Regions from separate parts of the Homo sapiens genome. Here region 2 is linked to region 1. Evidence: promoter capture Hi-C in human tissues and cell types (Jung and others, 2019). All regions are on one chromosome and are shown on one strand. The core of a region is centred on a gene start or on the middle of the fragment in contact, and the rest is flanking DNA. Distances in the headings are between cores, read along the strand shown.

What was found. Contacts are between HindIII fragments. The study calls those that stand out against the background at their distance.
Region 2: a contact is called between a fragment that was not itself captured here and the fragment with the promoter of KAT2A in region 1, in 3 of the 25 tissues and cell types used here (IMR-90 fibroblasts, mesendoderm cells and thymus).

Annotation. Positions count from the first base shown.
Region 1 is chr17:42,120,117-42,122,817 of GRCh38, reverse strand. KAT2A (lysine acetyltransferase 2A) reads left to right here and starts at 1,451. Exons shown (of 18, transcript NM_021078.3): 1 at 1,451-1,852; 2 at 1,989-2,112; 3 at 2,448-2,593; 4 at 2,699-2,701. The coding sequence starts at 1,514. HSPB9 (heat shock protein family B (small) member 9) reads right to left here and starts at 14. Exons shown (of 1, transcript NM_033194.3): 1 at 1-14. RefSeq lists a silencer at 1,335-1,584. The HindIII fragment of the contact is 6,206 bases long and covers 1-2,003 here.
Region 2 is chr17:42,211,264-42,213,964 of GRCh38, reverse strand. STAT5B (signal transducer and activator of transcription 5B) reads left to right here. Exons shown (of 19, transcript NM_012448.4): 13 at 1,775-1,981. Among named protein-coding and RNA genes, the nearest start is that of GHDC, 18 kb to the right of the region's middle. The HindIII fragment of the contact is 7,783 bases long and covers 1-2,701 here.

The sequences.
Region 1 (2,701 bases), core at 202-2,701:
GAGGCTCCCAGCGCAGAGCTAGGCGCACGGACGCCCGGAGAGGAGGGACCTCGCGCGGCCTACCCGAGCTCAGCTCCGCTCGCTCGGTTCCCTTCGCTTCTGCAAACGCAGGCGGAGTTCGGGATCAGCCACGCCCATCTTACCTCCAAGAGCCAGACTGTCAGCGCCCTGGCGCGCCCGCAGCTGCTCTCCTCCCAGACTCCGACCCTTTCTCCGCCCTTCCCCACCTTCGTTAATGGACCCGGGGAGGCCGCAGCTGTGAAGGAACTGGATCCACGACCAGGCCAGACCCGAGGGAGCCGCACCCTGGCGCAGCCAACAGCAGATTGATCCCCCAGCTGGAAGGGGGCTGTCTTGCCTTCTAAGGACCAGGCCTGGGGCAAGGATTGTTCCTAGACAGAGCCAGGGGAGGGCGGCCTTCCTGGGTCATCCACCCTACCTCTCCCTGACCACCCACAACCCCACGCGGACACGCGACACGAGGAGGTGGACTGGTCTCTCCGGCTGCATTAATTCTTCCCGGGGCGTCCTGTGCTGCAGGCTGTGGTCTGGGCTCTGGGGCCACAAAGATGAAGACGCAGTTGGGGCTTCAGGAGAGTGGCTCCCAGTGCACAGAGAAAGACCTAGCCCTCCTCCGCCTCACCCTCCACGTCAGTAGCCTTCTTGGTGACCATCATAACCACAGCTATGCCTCTGGTGCTGTTATTTGATAATTTTTTTTTTTTAAGAGACAGGGTATCATTATGTTGCCCAGGTTAATCTCGAACTCCTGGGCTCAAGCGATCCTCCCATCTCGGCCTCCCAAAGTGCTGAGATTACAGGCGTGAGCCACCTCGCCCAGCCTATAAACTTTATTTTTTATTTTTTTGTAGAGATTGGTGGGGGGGGTCTCCCAATGTTGCCCAGCCTGGTCTCGAACTCCTGCAGGGCTCAAGCTCTCCTCCCGCGTGAGCCAGCCACCCGGCCTGATAAACTCCTTTTTGTTGAGTGATACTATTAAATACATACATACTGAAAAGCGCAGAAAAAGGTGCAGGTGAATGTCAGGAGGAGAACACACCCAAGTCACCACCACACTACTGCAGAACTGTTGCTACATCTCATCTCTACCGCAGCTGCAATTCCGTGTCCGGAGCCGCGTGGGGCAGGGCCTGTGCGGGAGTTGGGGGAGGGGGTTAAGTGGGAGACAGGCGCGTGAAAGAGGCAGACCCCACGATTCTCCCCAAGACTCCTTGTCCCCAAGAGGACAGCCATCGTGACTCTCCCGGACTCCATTAAAAGAGATTACAAGTGAAGAGGGGTCAATGTGGGGCCTTCACTCAGGCCTCACTTGGCTGTCAGGGGCCAAGAGACAGGACAGAAAAGTCTGGAAGCTGGAGGCAGTGAGGGGAAGGCGCGGGAAGACTACAACTCCCGTCATGCGCCGCGCAGCAACGCCTGCGCACTGAGCGCTGGTTGCCCATGCGGCCCTAGGGCTGGGAGCGCGGCGCCGCTCTCCGCTGCGGGGGAGGCCATGGCGGAACCTTCCCAGGCCCCGACCCCGGCCCCGGCTGCGCAGCCCCGGCCCCTTCAGTCCCCAGCCCCTGCCCCAACTCCGACTCCTGCACCCAGCCCGGCTTCAGCCCCGATTCCGACTCCCACCCCGGCACCAGCCCCTGCCCCAGCTGCAGCCCCAGCCGGCAGCACAGGGACTGGGGGGCCCGGGGTAGGAAGTGGGGGGGCCGGGAGCGGGGGGGATCCGGCTCGACCTGGCCTGAGCCAGCAGCAGCGCGCCAGTCAGAGGAAGGCGCAAGTCCGGGGGCTGCCGCGCGCCAAGAAGCTTGAGAAGCTAGGGGTCTTCTCGGCTTGCAAGGTGGGGGCGGGGCCTGGGGTGAAGGGGCGGGGCTTGGGGCATCCCAGGGCTCTGGTGGGAATGGGGTCAAAGCTCTGGCTGCGGAGCGGCTCTTGCCCCAGAGGTATAGGTCATTGACTGATCCTTCCACCTCCAGGCCAATGAAACCTGTAAGTGTAATGGCTGGAAAAACCCCAAGCCCCCCACTGCACCCCGCATGGATCTGCAGCAGCCAGCTGCCAACCTGAGTGAGCTGTGCCGCAGTTGTGAGCACCCCTTGGGTAAGGCAGGCAGCGCCCTTGGAGCTGGGGGCAGGTGCTGGGTCCTGCTTGGACAGGGTGACAAGTGCCACAAAGCTTCATCTCTGAAAAAATCAAAGATGCCTCGAAGGAGGGATTGGGTTGGGGGGGGGTGTGCACCAAGGGGGGAGAAAGGAAATCTCTCAGCCCAGAACAGGCCCAGGCAACCCAACGGTTGATATCGGAGCAGTCAGTCTCACTGTTGGTCACACTGGTTGGAGGAACAGAGTGTGTATCTTGCTTGGCTGTGAAGAGGGTCAAGAAGCCTTGTTGATTTCTTCTATCAATTTTTCCTAACTCTGCCATCTGTCTTGCAGCTGACCACGTATCCCACTTGGAGAATGTGTCAGAGGATGAGATAAACCGACTGCTGGGGATGGTGGTGGATGTGGAGAATCTCTTCATGTCTGTTCACAAGGAAGAGGACACAGACACCAAGCAGGTCTATTTCTACCTCTTCAAGGTGAGCTTCCACTAAAGGAGGGTGTGAGTGAAGGAGGTGGGGCCTTGAGGGGTTGTCTGCAGCTCTGCCCCCCTCCCCTCTATGCCCCCTTCCTCTTCTCTCTAGCTA
Region 2 (2,701 bases), core at 1-2,500, 91 kb before region 1:
TCACCATGTTGGCCAGGCTGGTCTCGAATTCTTGACCTCAAGTGATCCACCCACCTCGGCCTCCCAAAGTGCTGGGATTATAGGCATGAGCCACTGCACCCAGCCGACCTTATGCTATGTTAAAAAAAAGACTTTCAGCTGGGCACGGTGGCTCACACCTGTAATCCCAGCACTTTGGGAGGCCGAGGTGGGTGGATCATTTGAGGTCAGGAATTCGAGACCAGCTTGGCCAACATGGTGAGACTCTCATCTCTACTAAAAATACAAAAATTAGCTGGGCGTGGTGGTGCGTGCCTATGATCCCAGCTACTCGGGAGGCTGAGGCAGGAGAATTGCTTGAACCTGGGAGGCAGAGGTTGTAGTGACCTGAGATGGTGCCACTGCACTCCAGCCTGGGCAACACAGTGAGACTCTGTCTCAAAAAAATAAAAAATAAAAAATAAATAATAAAGACTTGTGGCCAGGCACAGTGGTTTATGCCTGCAATCCCAGCACTTTGGGAGGCCAAGGCAAGCGGATCTCTTGAGCCCAGGAATTTGAGGCCAGCCTTGTCAACATAGCAAAACCCTGTCTCTACAAAAAACACACAAATTAGCCAGGCATGGTGGTGCACGCCTGTAGTCCCAGCTGTTTGGGAGGCTGAGGTAGGATAATTACTTGAGCTAAGGAGGCAGAAGTTGCAATGAGCCAAGATTGGGCCACTGTACTCCAGCCTGGATGACAGAGCGAGACCTTACCTAAAAAAAAAAATAATTGTGGAAATTTATTCTCCATATATATTTGCCTATGTGTCCTGTGGGTCAAATAACATAAGAACATTGCAGCATTGTTAGTAATAGCTAAAGATGAGGCTGTAACACTGATGCCCATCTATGGGGGTCTGGTGAAATTTCTTTATGTGCTGATGGGAGGTCTCCCAGATAGAGGATTAAGTGAAAAGAGGAAGATGCAGAACATGTGGATTTTGTGCTGTCATTTGTGAAGAAAAGGAAAAGGTATATGTCATTGCTGGCATGCATAGAATATCTTTGGTGGGATACACAAGAAACTGTGTTAGGTGCCTTTAAAGAAAAGAACTGGGTTGCTGGGAGACAGGGATAGGGAGTGACTTCACTGTGTAGCCGTCTGTGCTTTTTGAATTTTAAATCATGTGAAAATCACCTATTGAAAAAAGTGTTTGTAACAAAATAAAATGGAGTACTATGGCTGAACGGGTTGAAAAGCAGTTTATTAAAAGTTAATCTTCTAACCTATTTCTCAATAAAGCCATCCAACTCAAAATTTCCACTCTTCCATACCAAGTTGTTTTACTTTGAGCTAGAATTCTTGGCAGAAGGAGTCGAGGGCAATGATTCCACGTGTGTACACACATGCCGACACGTGTGCACACATACGCACACTCTCTCTGTTTGTACCTAGAGGACCAGTCTTTCAGATTTCTAAATTCCCAAGGTGTTTACAATCTAAGAGCCAGACCTTGGTTATGTTTTGGTTTGTGGCCGTTAGAACATAGGATTTGACTGTTAGTTCAGCAGCTCATTTACAAAACAGCATGGATAGCATGGGTTACCTTCTAGTTGTGTGTAAAGAAGGTGAAACGGAACCTTCTGAATTTCACAGAACCGTGTACCCCAGCAGAGTCTGAATTTATCCTCAGGCCCTGCAAGACAAATGTGTGTAACCACTCCCAGCCATCAGCGTTTTTCTTTTGTGGCTTGAGGGAATAAATCATGCAACTGTTTTCTCATCAGATTCTGGCCTCTCTCCCTCTCAGGGCAGGGTGCCATTTGCCGTGCCTGACAAAGTGCTGTGGCCACAGCTGTGTGAGGCGCTCAACATGAAATTCAAGGCCGAAGTGCAGAGCAACCGGGGCCTGACCAAGGAGAACCTCGTGTTCCTGGCGCAGAAACTGTTCAACAACAGCAGCAGCCACCTGGAGGACTACAGTGGCCTGTCTGTGTCCTGGTCCCAGTTCAACAGGGTGAGGAGCCCAGCTGCCAGCCGCTGTTAGATCAGTCCTTCCCAACCAGATGCTCTCAGGAGTCTCCCTGCCCTGGGCCCTTATTCTTCATGTCTCTAATAAAATGTACCGAAAGTAATAGAAGCTTCTGACTAGATGGACAACTTGAGAGTTACCCAGGTCACGTGTAGAAAATTACATCTTTGCATATTTTAAATAAGTTGACCTTTGTCTACAGTTAATGCATTTTCTTCCTTTGTAAAGGAAATAGAGCAAAGCAGATGTTAACATAGCTCATGAGAAGCAAAGCTTTTGAGGGGATGCGAACTCTGGGCCTCTCTCCCCTTTACTCTCTTATGTTCCCCATGTGTAATGCCAGATCAGGCTCCTATGGGACCCTCAACCCACAAAGAGGGATGCTGATGAAAGAAACTCCTCCTCTAGCATCTGCTAATTCAGACGTCACTTTGATTTTATTTTTATTCATTTTTTTTTTTTGAGACAGAGTTTCGCTCTTGTTGCCCAGGCTGGACTGCAATGGCACGATCTTGGCTCACCGCAACCGCCGCCTCCTGGTTTCAAGCGATTCTCCTGCCTCAGCCTCCCGAGTAGCTGGGATTACAGGCATGCGGCACCACGCCCCGCAATTTTGTATTTTTAGTGGAGACGGGGTTTCTCCATGTTGGTCAGGCTGGTCTCGAACTCCCGACCTCAGGTGATCTGCCCGCCTCGGCCTCCCAA